Regions from separate parts of the Homo sapiens genome. Here all the other regions are linked to region 2. The links are contacts of gene promoters, found by promoter capture Hi-C in human tissues and cell types (Jung and others, 2019). All regions are on one chromosome and are shown on one strand. Each heading gives the region's core, a stretch centred on a gene start or on the middle of the fragment in contact. The rest is flanking DNA. Distances are from core to core; before and after follow the strand shown. Region 1 overlaps RNF32-DT (RNF32 divergent transcript). Region 2 holds the start of SHH (sonic hedgehog signaling molecule). Region 3 overlaps LOC285889 (a long non-coding RNA gene).

Region 1 (4,507 bases), core at 1,091-3,590, 790 kb before region 2:
GGGATCACTGGATTGAATGGTGGTTCTACTTTTAGTTCTTGGAGAAATCTCCATGCTGTTTTCGTTTTGTTTTTTGAGACAGAGTCTTGCCCTGTTGCCCAGGCTGGAGTGCAATGGCATGATCTCGGCTCACTGCAACCTCCACCTCCCAGGGTCAAGCAATTTTCATGCCTCAGCCTCCCAAGTAGCTGGGATTATAGGCGTGTGCCACCACGCCTGGCTAATTTTTGCATTTTTAGTGGAAATGGGATTTCACCACGTTGGCCAGGCTGGCCTCAAACTCCTGGGCTCAAGCGATCCTCCCACCTCGGCCTCCAAAATTTCTGGGATCACAGGCATGAGCCACCGCGCCCAGCCTCCATACTGTTTTCCATAGAGGCTGCACTAATTTACATCCTCACCAACAGTGTATAAGTGTTCTCTTTTTTCCATATCCTTGCCAACATTTGTTATTTTTGTCTTTTAAGCAACAGCCATTCTGACTGGTATAAGATGGTATCTAATTGTGATTTTAATTTACATTTCTCTGATTAGTGATGAGCATTTTTTCATATGCTAGTTGGCCATTTGTATAACTTCTTTTGAAAAATGCCTATTTTTGTCCTTTGCTCACTTTTATTTTATTTTATTATTATTATACTTTAAGTTTTAGGGTACATGTGTACAATGTGCAGGTTAGTTACATATGTATACATGTGCCATGCTGGTGTGCTGCACCCATTAACTCGTCATTTAGCATTAGGTATATCTCCTAAAGCTATCCCTCCCCCCTACCCACACCCCACAACAGTCCCCAGAGTGTGATGTTCCCCTTGCTGTGTCCATGTGTTCTCATTGTTCAATTCCCACCTATGAGTGAGAATATGTGGTGTTTGGTTTTTTGTTCTTGCGATAGTTTGCTGAGAATGATGATTTCCAATTTCATCCGTGTCCCTACAAAGGACATGAACTCATCATTTCTTATGGCTGCATAGTATTCCATGGTGTATATGTGCCACATTTTCTTAATCCAGTCTATCATTGTTGGACATTTGGGTTGGTTCCAAGTCTTTACTATTGTGAATAGTGCCACAATAAACATACATGTGCATGTGTCTTTATAGCAGCATGATTTATAGTCCTTTGGGTATATACCCAGTAATGGGATGGCTGGGTCAAATGGTGTTTCTAGTTCTAGATCCCTGAGGAATCGCCACAGACTTTCACAAGGGTTAAACTAGTTTACAGTCCCACCAACAGTGTAAAAGTGTTCCTATTTCTCTACATCCTCTCCAGCACCTGTTGTTTCCTGACTTTTTAATGATCGCCATTCTAACTGGTGTGAGATGGTATCTCATTGTGGTTTTGATTTGCATTTCTCTGATGGCCAGTGATGGTGCCTTTGCTCACTTTTTTAATGGGCTTATTTTTGTTGTTGTTGTTGAGTTGTTTGAATTCCTTGTAAATTCTGGATATCAGTCCCTGGTTGGATGCATTGTTTGCAAATATTTTCTACCATTCTGCAGGTTATCTCTTTACTCTGTTGACGATTTCTTTTGCTGTACAGAAGCTTTTTAGTTTAATTAAGTCCCATTTGTCTATTTTTGCTTTAGTTGTTTCTGCATTTGAGATCTTAGGCATGAATTCTTTTCCTAGACCAATGTGTAGAAGAGTTTTCCCTGGGTTTTCTTCTAGTATTTTTAGTTTCAGGTCTTACATGTAAGTCTTTAATCCATCTTGAGTTGACTTTTTTTGTTGTTGTTTTTGTTTTGAGGCAGCTGTCTCAGCTCACTGCAACCTCGGCCTCCCAAGTTCAAATGATTCTCCTGCCTCTGCATCCCGAGTAGCTGGGATTACAGGTGCCTACCACCATGCCTGGCTAAGTTTTGTATTTTTTTTTAGTAGAGATGGGGTTTCACTGTATTGGCCAGGCTGGTCTCAAACTCCTGACCTCAAGTGATCCGCCTGCCTCCACCTCCCAAAGTGCTGGGGTTACAAGTGTGAGGCACCATGCCTGGCTTTGAGTTGATTTTTGTATGTCGTGAGAGATAGGGGTCCAGTTTCTTTTTTCTGCATATGACAATCCGATTTTCCCAGCACCATTTATTGAAAAGAGTATTCTTTCCCCAGTGTATGTTTTTGTTGCCTTTGTGAATAGTTGGCTATAGATGTACAGCTTTATTTCTGAGTTCTCTATTCTGTTCCATTGATCTATGTGTCTGTTTTTGTACCAGTACCATGCTGTTTTGGTAACTATAGCCTTGTAGTATAATTTGAAGTCAGGTAATGTAATGCCTCCAGCTTTGTTCTTTTTGCTTAGGATTGCTTTGGCTGTTCATGTTCTTTGGTGGTTCTATATAACTTTTAGGATTTTTTTTTCTAAGTCTGTGAAAAATGACATTGGTATTTTGATAGAGATTATAATGAATCTGTAGATTGCTTGGGCAGTATGGTTTTTTTAACAATATTAATCTTAACATCCATGAGCATGGGATGTTTTTCCATTTGTTTGTGTCATCTGCAATTTCTTTCATCAGTGTTTGGTAGTTTTCCTTGTAGCAATCTTTCACCTCCTTGGTTAAATATATTCCTAGGTATTCTGTTTTATTTGTAGCTATTGTAAATGGGATTGTCTTGGGCAATCCTTTTACTCTTTCCCAGTTTCCAGGTAGATGTTGACCCCCTGGGAAACCTTAGAAGCCACACATTGATGATGGCAGAGCCTCCATTAGCTTGAGTCTTGAAATAACAGTGTGTGGGGTAGCTCTCCCCAACCCACCCCTCCATTGCCAGTCATGGGGCATAGCACCCCCCTAGCTTGCCCCTCAATTGCCAGCCATGGGGCATAGCACCCCCTAACTCACCCCTCAATTGCCAGCCATGGGGCATAGCACCCCCTAGCTTGCCCCTCAATTGCCAGCCATGGGGCATAGCACCCCCTAGCTTGCCCCTCAATTGCCAGCCATGGGGCATAGCACCCCCTAACTCGCCCCTCAATTGCCAGCCATGGGGCATAGCACCCCCTAGCTTGCCCCTCAATTGCCAGCCATGGGGCATAGCACCCCCTAACTCGCCCCTCAATTGCCAGCCATGGGGCATAGCACCCCCTAGCTTGCCCCTCAATTGCCAGCCATGGGGCATAGCACCCCCTAGCTTGCCCCTCAATTGCCAGCCATGGGGCATAGCACCCCCTAGCTTGCCCCTCAATTGCCAGCCATGGGGCATAGCACCCCCTAACTCGCCCCTCAATTGCCAGCCATGGGGCATAGCACCCCCTAGCTTGCCCCTCAATTGCCAGCCATGGGGCATAGTGCCCTGGAACCCACCCCTCAATTGCCAGTCATGACAGAATATCCACATTGGAATTGTGGTTTGAGAGAAAAATAAAAATTTTGTCTTGTTAAGCTGTTTAAATTTTGAGGATTATTTGTTACAGGTGCCAATATTTTCCTACCTAAAAGAGGATTCCTTATTAAAGGCTGTGGCACCACCATCCCTCAATCCCTGAACCAGAAAACGAAGGCAACAACTTTAATATTTCTTTATCCTCATTTCCAGACCAATTCCAAAGCCTGATTTTTTTTTTAAACTTTTAACTTTGAGATGATTTAGACTTAAAGAGTTGCAAAATACTGCAGTTACCAATATACCCTTCCCTCAACTTCCTCCAGTATTAATATCTTATATAACCATCATATAGTAATCAAAACTAAGAAATTAATATCGATAAATACTATTAATTAAATGACAGAGTTTGTTGGATTTCACTTGTTGAGGGACCTGGTAAGACATAGTAGGAATAAAATGTGAGACTCTTGTGTACTTTGGCTTACAGAAGCAAAATATGGTTTTTACACAGTTGGAAGACAACCAGCTGCCTGTAGTGTTATCACCAAAGAAAGACTACTAGGTGGCTCAGAACCACAAGTGTATTGATGTGAAACTGGAAGTAACTAGACATGTGAGCCTATTTTTTTTTTTTTTTTTTTTTTTTTTTGAGACAGGGTCTCACTCTGTCACACAGGCTGGAGTGCAGTGGTGCGATCTCGGCTCACTGCAACCTCTGCCTCCCAGGTTCAAATGATTCTCCCTCCTCGGCCTCTCCAGTAGCTGGGACTACAGGTGTGCACCACTGTGCCCAGCTAATTTTTGTATTTTTTGGTAAAAGCAGGGTTTCACCATGTTGGCCAGGCTGGTCTTGAACTTCTGACCTCAGGTGATCTGCCCGCCTTGGCCTCCCAAACTGCTGAGATTACAAACGTGGGCCACTGCACCCAGCTTGAGCCTAATTTGATCCCAGAATTAACACCATAGGCCGAGTGTGGGCTTATGCCTGTAATCCCAGCACTTTGGGAGGCTGAGGCAGGTGGATCACAAGGTCGGGAGATCGAGACCATCCTAGCTAACACGGTGAAACAGCATCTCTACTAAAAATACAAAAAATTAGCCAGGCGTGGTGGTGGGCGCCTGTAGTCCTAGCTACTCGGGAGGCTGAGGCAGGAGAATTGCTTGAACCTGGGAGGTGGAG
Region 2 (4,825 bases), core at 1,560-4,059:
GGGAGGGATGCGCGTGACCCCAAGGAAGAGAGGCAGAGCCCAGGTAGATGAATAACGGAGCCCCAGCATGTCCGGATGTCTGGCCTTGTCAGGGAGGCTGGTGTTTGGAGCCTCTGCTGGTGCGGGGAGGGGGCCAAATGGTCTGGGGGGGGGGGGGAAGGCAAAGAGATAGAGCCACCTGGCCTCTGGAGGGGAAGGCAGTGCTGGGCCGTGGGGAGCAGGTGGGATGGAAGGACAGGGAGTGAAGGGCGGGAGGGCAGAGCAGCAGCTTCTCTGGGGGGCTCAGTCAGCAGCCTGGTCTATAACTGGGATTGCTTTCTGCGCCGAGCTCCCCTCAACCCATGCAGGGGGCAGGCCCTCTGAACTTAGGCGTGGGGGCAGGCTTTCTGGCCCATCATTATTTCACTCTGGAGGATCGGCCAGTCTACAAGGGGGGCGGCCCCTGAGGTGCTCTCCAGGGTGTCTAGGGCTGTCTGGAGATGGAGGGGAGGGAGGGGGCCTCACGCCATCCCTTAGGGCAGGGAGGTTTCAGGAAATGCCCTGAGTCACCCAAGCTCAATGCCAAGCCACGTCTTCTCCCTGCGCTCTGCTAAGAGGGAGCTGACCGCACCTGGGGGCACCCCACGTCCAGCTGTGCCCACAAGGAACTCTGTGCAGCTCAGGCTTTTGCTTCCAAAAGCACACCCCACCCACCCTGCCCCTTGCAGAGGTGAGCTGTGTGCACATGCCACCTCCCGGCAGGGCTGCACACCCAATCTCTCAGGCCCCAGGGTGGCAACCCGTGTGGGGGGCCTTCTGCCTGCATTTGGAAGGGAGTAAGTAGCGGGGAAAGACAGGGGGAGGAGGAGGGACTGGGGCAAGAGGAGATGCCAAGGGTGGAAGGCAGGGCAGTCAAAAGTTTGCAAATGTCCCACTGGGCCAGGTCGCTGGTCCAGCCCAGGCACCACCCAGTGATGTGACATCCACATGCTGTGCAGGTAGACACATCAAACAGGCCGGCCTCCTCTGGAGAGAACACGGGTCCTGTTTTGTGTCTGTTTTTACTGGGAACGGGACAGGCAGCGCAGACACACCGCCTGGAGAATCCCTGGGCTCAGCTGAGCTCCAGCTCCGCTCAGTGGAGGCTGCCGGGGCCTGGTCAAGTGGACGCTGCTCCCCCACGGTGCTCTCCTCCAGGGATCACGATTCGTCACAAACCATGGAAAGGAACAAGAAAGAGAGGCGGGAAGGGGAGCCCGGGTCAACCTCCCCAAAGGCACCCAGGCCACCGAGTCTTGTTAACGCTCAGCCTCTCATGCCCAAGACAGATGTGTCCTAAGATGCTCCTCTCCTTCTCTCCCCCACCACACACACAAAAAGTTGATCTGCAAAGGGAACTTCTGGAAACTTCCATCGTTTGAGGGCTGAGCTTCACAGGGGTCCTCTCCCCCTCCACTCCAAGGGCCCGGGGTCAAGGGAGAGTGTTTAACTTCACAGGGCCACATTTGCAGCATCTGATGACTCCTCAGGGTCAGGATTTCCCCTCCACGTAAATAACCCTCACTCTCTAATCCTATGCTAGAGGAATCATTGCACATGAGTGGGATGGCGATTGAGAAGGGGAAGGGCATGATCTGTTTTTTTTTTTTTAAAAAAAAAAAGAAAAGCAGGGTTGAGAGGGAGCTTCAAATTTTATTTTCCTGGTTTACTTAGGACTTTTGAGTTTTTTTCCTTTTTCTGCAAAAAGTGAGGTGATTATAGACTCAAAGATTGCCACCTCCTGGGCACTGTGCCCTCTTTCTAGGAAGCCCCTCGTTAACCAGAACACTGTTCCCCCAGGGCCCCTGACCCCTTGGGCTGCAGCCCCTAGGACTGGTGGCTCCTGTGCCTGAAGACTGCTGGCCTGCTGAGCCCCCACACAAGGCCAGCTTTGCAAGGAGCCTGAATTCCACATTCAGCTCACCCCTGGCTCTGCACTTTGCTCTGATCGATCGTGGGGGTTGTGTGAGCACAGCTTCGCCCACTCGCCTGCCCCCCCCCCAACACCCTGCAATGGCCTCCACACACCCAGCGCACACACTGGCCCCCACTCTCTCCCCTGTGCTGGGGTGCAGCCCCCAGACCTGCTTTGCCCATCCACCCTGACGCCCGCAGTTCACTCTGTAACTGCCCTTGAGCACGCCTCCATCCCATTTGCAGAGCTCTACAAAAAAAAAAATGTATTAATTGAAGCACAATAAAAGAGCAGTATTTTTACATTTTTCTAAGGCACTTAAAGCATTTCAAATACCAGTGCTTTAAGTTATGGTCACTCATAATTATCCTCGGTCCACAGAGGCTGAGTCTTCAGGAGGGGCTCAGTCCTCTTTCTTCAAAATGCAGGGAGAGCCAGCCTGCACTATAAAGTCCCTGGGGAAGAAAAATTAAATAACAGCTGGGCAGCTGTGCCCCTCAAATGTGTGAGCGACTCTGTGCTTGATGACTGAAGCTTGCGGGGGTTTAAACTGTCCTTTAAAAACTTAAGTTGGTTTTAACTGAAGCACCTACCATTCCAGGGAAAGTCAGGGGGAAACGCAAGGATGTACACAAAGCCGGGAGTAACTGCTGTTACCACAAGACATGCGCTCCTCCCTCCCGCCCACCTTTATCTTAGGAAAGATTTTTTTTTTTTTAACTCGAATCCTTCAGGTGAAAATAAAGCAACAGCAGCAACAGAAAAAAAAAACGTAGTCTTCTTCAGGGTTAACATCAGAAGACAAGCTTGTGCGGCTTTGGCCAATCAGATGCGCCCCTGGCAGCTATAATATAGTGCTAAAGGCAGCCTCTCTCACAAGCTCTCCAGGCTTGCTACCATTTAAAATCAGACTCTTTTTGTCTTTTGATTGCTGTCTCGCGACCCAACTCCGATGTGTTCCGTTATCAGCGGCCGGCAGCCTGCCATTCCAGCCCCTGTCTGGGTGGGGAGCGGTGGAGAGTCCCCCGCAGCCGCGGCGGGCAAGGTTATATAGGAAGAGAAAGAGCGAGGCAGCCAGCGAGGGAGAGAGCGAGCGGGCGAGCCGGAGCGAGGAAGGGAAAGCGCAAGAGAGAGCGCACACGCACACACCCGCCGCGCGCACTCGCGCACGGACCCGCACGGGGACAGCTCGGAAGTCATCAGTTCCATGGGCGAGATGCTGCTGCTGGCGAGATGTCTGCTGCTAGTCCTCGTCTCCTCGCTGCTGGTATGCTCGGGACTGGCGTGCGGACCGGGCAGGGGGTTCGGGAAGAGGAGGCACCCCAAAAAGCTGACCCCTTTAGCCTACAAGCAGTTTATCCCCAATGTGGCCGAGAAGACCCTAGGCGCCAGCGGAAGGTATGAAGGGAAGATCTCCAGAAACTCCGAGCGATTTAAGGAACTCACCCCCAATTACAACCCCGACATCATATTTAAGGATGAAGAAAACACCGGAGCGGACAGGCTGATGACTCAGGTAGGAACCCAGCGCCGGGGCGTGGAATGTGTGGCTTTCCAGGGGGTTACGAGAAGCCGAACACTTCCAGACTTAACTCTGTTTGCTCTTCGGGCAGATAGGAAGGTGATTTCACCCGCTCCTTCCCCACCCACCTGCCCGCCCCCCATCTCTTCCTCTTCCTGGAGGAGAATGGAGGTCAAGGGTCCAGCTGGAGAAGTTTAGGGTGTGGTGGGGGTGAGGACGGTAACAGACGTGGTTCATTATGGCCCTGATTTGATGAGTCTTGCTACAATGGCCTTCCCCATCCTACCTCTGCCCTGGCTTGTAACTTGGGGAGACCTTCACTTTGGGGGCGTCGGCCCTTTCCAAGTCAGGAGTGGAAATGGAAGGAGAGGCTGGGAATCCCCCTCCCACAAACATGAAGTGGTCTCCTGGTACTGTACGAACGAACGAACGTAGCCTTGGGCATTGGAGCTCAGAGCCCCCACGTTTCCCGTTGCCTCTGTGGTTTTCTTTCCCACCACTACCCCCACCCTGCACCTCCCCACCAAAGAATTCTCAACTGGAAAAGCCAGGAGGCGGTTCTGACAAAAGGCAGGGGCTCCAGGGGAGACTCCGCCCGTCCCTGGGTGGCTGGCTGTATCGCAGAGCTGGCTTTGCGATTGCGTGTCCGCAATTGTGCCCATCAGAGTGTGAATGTATTGATATTTCTTTAAGGATGCTCTTTCGTTCTTCCAAGCCCGAGGTACCTTAGGGGAGGGACTTAGAACTTATTGGCATTGCATCACTTTAGTTTTCAACCTGCTTGCATAAGAATTAAGAGCGAATAAATATTAGTGTGGGGGGAGGGGAAGCTAAGCAAAATATGAATTCCTCTCTCTCTCCCCACCTCCTTTGAGATTTCTGAGCTGCCAATCTCCCAGCCAATTCTAGACTTTCTGAAACTCCATGCACGTATAACTGAAGCCAGAAATGGGTTTCCTTGCAAATATAGGTCAACATCCTTTTTATTGCCCTATTAAAATATTCAAGTCCTACCTTTAGGGCTAGGTGCGTACAGCGGCTGATGGAGTGGCGCTGGTGGGGCGCAAGTGCAGGGGGAGGGTACTGACGGCAGAGAGAGAGGAGCTACCTCCGTGCCGCCCTGCTTCCCGACCCGATTCCCAGGCTTGCTTGAGGCCGAGAAAGGCGAGGGGCAGGCAAGGTAGCCTGCTCCAGCTGTCGGAAGGGAGAGGAATGGGAAATGGTCCTGATTTCCTTGCTCTCCCTCATCTGCTCCCGACCACCTTAAATCTGGACCGCGAGTGTGGACGCGCGCGCCAGTGCCAGACAGCAGCGCGATCCACAATTAACTCTGCACGGGCCATGGGGTGCCCGTTGCGTGCAGCTGGCTG
Region 3 (4,569 bases), core at 1,458-3,957, 630 kb before region 2:
CCTTAGGGCTGGGGTTTGTGATGGCCTCCCACTGTGTGACTCCGGGTGCCTTAGTCCCCTGCTGAATTCCAGGCCCTGCTGTGCCTCTGCAGGGTCTGTGTACCCTCTGCTCTGTGGCTCCTCCGAGCACACAGTCTCATCATCACTGTCATGAATTGTCGTAGAAAAGTCCTAAATCCCAGAGTTTGCAATGGTCTTTTTTGCACCAGTTAGAAAACACACCACCTTTGGAAGCAATTAACCTCTTGTGGTTCAGGTAAATTGGATCTGATGTAATGCAGGAGTGCACAGCGGTGGTTTCTGTTGTTTGCTTGCTGTTTTATATTTATTTATTTATTTATTTATTAGGTGTATTCAGGAGTCCATGCAGCAGGAAGTGGAGCCATCATCACAGGGTACGAAGGGAGGACAAGTGCAGTGTCGTGAGCATGTACAGAGGGAAGTTGACAGCGGGGAGAGGCTTTGCTGAGGAAGTGGCGTTTGGAAGAACGAGAATGAGGTAAGTGAGGGGGGTGAAGAGCAATGGGGGCAGTTTGTGCAAAAGCCGGAGGTGCAAGGATGCTGCCGAGCTGGCGGAAGGAGGCCAGAGGGACTGCTCACGGCCTTGGGGGATGGGAGGTGAGGTCGATGGGGGCTTATGATGAAGCAGGAGAATGGGTCTGGAATCGCTTTGGAGGGTCACGGAGAGCCATGGGAGGGTTTTGGGTGCAGGAGTGACCCAGTCAGATCAGTGGCAGATCAGACACTCTGGCTGTCGTGTGGGAATGGGCTGCAGAGAGTGTGGTCCATCCTACACAACCAGGACCTACTGCCGGGGGGGCAGGTGAGAAGCGGCGGTGTCTCGGATGGGGGTGGGAGAAGGGCCGAGGCAAATGTGTGGAGTGTGGAAAAAGCACAGGCACAGGGGAAAGCCCGATGGGACGTTGGTAGCAGCTTGCGTTTGATTTTGGGGATGAAATGGAAAGTGTGTCAAGGAGTGTGCCCTGGTTTTTGGTGTGTGTAGCTGGTGGCGCTGAGACAGGGACCCTCAAGGAGGCCGGGGTGCAGGGGAATCGCCGCCTGGGTGTAGAGCCTTCAGGACCCGTGGAGGGGCTGGCAGCTGGACCTGCCGGTCTAGAAGGGAGGGCTGTTGCGACCTCAGCTTGGGCTTGGGAGGCATCAGCGTCGATTTCCTCACTGACTTTTCCACTGGGCAAGTGCCAGGGGCCTTTAAGGATCTCATCGTTTAGTCAGTAATGATTTTTGAACATGAAATAATTAGGCAGAAATGTGACCAAACAAGCCTGCTATCACATAGGCCGTGTGGAAAACAGCTGTTAGGGGAAGCCAGGAGAGGAGGATGCACTGTGAGCCAGGGGTTCGACGGCCTCCTTCCTGGGCATCTAAGGGACCTGGTGCCCCATCTGAGCCAGCCCGTTCTCCTTCCCTCTTCCCTAACTCTGGCGGGGCCAGAGTGGAGGTGTCCATACAGGGCCCCCTCTTCTTTCGTCTTCTAGGCCAGGCACCAAGCCCACACTCCATCCATTCCCAGGGAGCAGCCGTGGGCACAGGAGTGACTGCAGAAGTGAGTCAGATTGGAGCCATGTGAGGTCTACACCCAGGTGGCCAGGCATGGGCTGAGAGTCCAGGGCCAGAGAAGGAAGGGGCATAAGTGAGGACAAGCAAGTAGGTGCCCAGCACCCCGACACGCAGTTGGCTCGGCACCCCAACATGCAGGTGCTCAGCACCTCAAGACACAGATGGCTCAGCACCCCGACACACAGGTCTCTCAGCACCCCAACATGCAGGTCACTCAGCACCCCAACATGCAGGTGGCTCAGCACCCCAACACGCAGGTGGCTTGGCACCCTGACATGCAGGTGGCTCAGCACCCAGACACGCAGGTGGCTTGGCACGCCAACACACAGGTGCTCAGCACCCCGACATGCAGGTGGCTCAGCACCCAGACACGCAGGTGGCTTGGCACCCCTACATGGAGGTGCTCAGCACCCTAAAACGCAGATTGGAATGAGAAACCCTTTCCTGTTAGGGGAAACCTGGAGAAGCCAGTGAAGGACACTGACCAGCGAACAGCTTCTCACATGCTTTCTTCACCTGGTGGCTGGAAGTCCCTGGGAAGCTCAGACGGAGTAAGTGGATGGAGCTGAGCGGACCCAGGAGGCTGGAGGTGGGAGCAGATGCGGGAAGCACTACTTCTCCTCTCTCTGGGACTCTTAATTATCTGCACAGGGAGTTTCCATCTTGTTAAAAGTGCCACTGTCTGCCAGTCAGTGACTCCTCAAGAAATCTATGAAAGTGTCACTGCAAAGAGGCAACTTCCACAGGGACCAACGGATGTGACGGGGTAGATGTGGTCACAGAGCAAGTGTGGATAGAATCTCTATAATGGACTCACACAGACTTGGTCTTTCCAGAGGTGGCCTGATAGTCATTCCCGACCAATCTCTCAGCAGTGGCTCCTCTGAACTGTACATTTCTGTGCCTTATCCGTCTCTGCTGAGTGTGGTCAAGAAGGCACCACTTTATTTTTTAATTTTTCTTTTGTTTTTTTTTTGAGACAGTGTCCCACTCTGTCACCCAGGCTGGAGTGCAGTGGCATGATCTCAGCTCATGCAGCCTCTGCCTCCCAGGCTCAAGCAATCCTCCCACCTCAGCCTCTTGAGTTGCTGGGACTACAGGTGCACACCACTATGCTTGGCTGATTTTTGTATTTGTTTATTTTATTTTTTTTAGATGGGGTTTTGCCGTGTTACCCAGGCTAGTCACGAACTCCTGTGCTCAAGCGATCTGTCTGCCTCGGCCTCCAAAGTGCTGGGATTGCAGGCATGAGCCACCGCGCCCAGCCAGAAAGCCACTGCTTTATAGACCACCACTTAAATGCACCTGGCAGCTTCATGTACGCAAGAACTTTCCTGCAGCTCCTTTAAATTTAAGAATCTTTTGGCAAAATGAAGAATACAAGCGTGTTTCTTCTTCATATGCTTTGTTTTAGGAACATTAAAAAAATATAGTTACTACAATCAGAAAGCAGTTATATTTGTATGTTTTGTAACAAATACTGTGGCCTGATAGAATGAGCTTCTGACAAAGGCATGTGCTTTCCAAGTGGGCCAAGTTCAAAAGTTGTCCGCTGAGTTGTCTCACTGGCTCATCCAGCCAATCATTCAAATATTTAAAGGCCCCACTAAGGGCCATGTTACTCATTGTACATCTTTAAGGATGGGTGTAACTTACTTATCTGTTTATTTTCAATTTCAGAATACTTTATATTGACTCCTAAAAGTATGGTGTAGTGTATGTTTGTTTTGGGAGTTTCAATACAATCCCTAAATTTATGTATCTCAAATGTACAGGGACTGATCAAATTAGTGCTAATTTTCCTAAAACAGTGTCAAAAACAAGGGAATCAATCATGAACACACTAAGCATGAGCATCGACTGTCACAAGACATGGCTCAGTTTATTTTTTCTTCCTTCTTACTACACCGTAGAACAGAGCTCTTTTGTTTGCTTATGACCTGGGCAAATATGCTGTATGATAAAAAAAAATCATGTATGCATTTGATTCTCATCCAGATGCCCTTAGGATAAGAGGTTCATTTTCATCTTCTGTTTTCCAAATGAAGCTTTAAATCTAATTAGATCTTGAAAGAAAATAACTGCAATAGGGTTTCTGTAAGTAAAGGGCCCTCATTTAAATAATGCTGTTATTTGTTTATGTGATTTACAGTAAGTGATGAAACTCTTCGTGGCCAGCACGCCGCTCACTTCGGGGATCCTTTGCACAGAGCACTTTGAGTTAGTTATAAACCATTCTACACACAGAAGCATTTAATTGTTAGAACATTTCATAGTGTAACAGCATTTCTCATTGCCTAGCATGGGCCTTCTCCATATCGAAGGCCCAATAAATATTTGTAGAATAAAGGAATTCACACCCATCCATTGCCCAGATCATAATTGAGCGGCTCTTCTATTAAAGTTTAGCCTTTTCATGTTAATTTAAAGTGGGGAATTTGAAGGGAGAAATGCGAATTTCAGACTCTAAAAAAGACAAGTCCCGTATAGAACGAGGTCCCAGAGACTCTAAGACGTCTGTGTTGATAGACGTAGGGCTGCAGGAATTGAGAAGTGGTTGACGAGGGAGAGTCTGTTTCAGACCTGCTGTTTGCAGGTTGTATTTGTTCCACAGCTGTTTTTGAAGGATGTTTCTACTCTTAATGGAATCAGGTACTTCACTAAGAGGCCCAAAGGTAAACCTTAGGCTGGATTTATGGCTCAATCCAGCATCCTAAAAGAAAATGTCTGCCTAGGCATTTTTTTTTCCATAAAAATATATACCCTCATCATCATAAATTCAGATTTCCATGGTATTTGCCTTGTGGTAGAACCCAAATGTTAGGGCAGTCTTACCAGGGACAGGACTAATGCAGAAGCAGCTGGCTCTGCTGGCCCTGGCTGAACCGCGATGTGGATGGGGCACCCTGTGAAGTGCTCTGAGTTCCTGGTTCAAGGTTAGGGAGATGGTGAAAAAGGCTGAGCACCTGTCAGTGCATTAAAACCATCGAC

Evidence for each region. The method cuts DNA at HindIII sites, captures the fragments that hold promoters and counts their contacts. A contact is called where the count stands out against the background at its distance.
Region 1: a fragment that was not itself captured here is called in contact with the fragment with the promoter of SHH in region 2 in 1 of the 25 tissues and cell types used here (dorsolateral prefrontal cortex).
Region 3: a contact is called between a fragment that was not itself captured here and the fragment with the promoter of SHH in region 2, in 3 of the 25 tissues and cell types used here (hippocampus, lymphoblastoid cells and thymus).

The regions. Positions count from the first base shown.
Region 1 is chr7:156,595,965-156,600,471 of GRCh38, reverse strand. All of the region lies in intron 2 of RNF32-DT (RNF32 divergent transcript), which reads left to right. Among named protein-coding and RNA genes, the nearest start is that of RNF32-DT, 42 kb to the left of the region's middle. The HindIII fragment of the contact is 5,421 bases long and covers 1-4,507 here.
Region 2 is chr7:155,810,447-155,815,271 of GRCh38, reverse strand. SHH (sonic hedgehog signaling molecule) reads left to right here and starts at 2,809. Exons shown (of 3, transcript NM_000193.4): 1 at 2,809-3,449. The coding sequence starts at 3,150. RefSeq lists an enhancer at 1-509. The HindIII fragment of the contact is 7,668 bases long and covers 1-4,825 here.
Region 3 is chr7:156,437,160-156,441,728 of GRCh38, reverse strand. It overlaps LOC285889 (a long non-coding RNA gene), which reads left to right. Exons shown (of 3, transcript NR_038232.1): 2 at 349-499; 3 at 2,734-3,940. Among named protein-coding and RNA genes, the nearest start is that of LINC00244, 100 kb to the left of the region's middle. RefSeq lists an enhancer at 599-1,473. The HindIII fragment of the contact is 7,433 bases long and covers 1-4,569 here.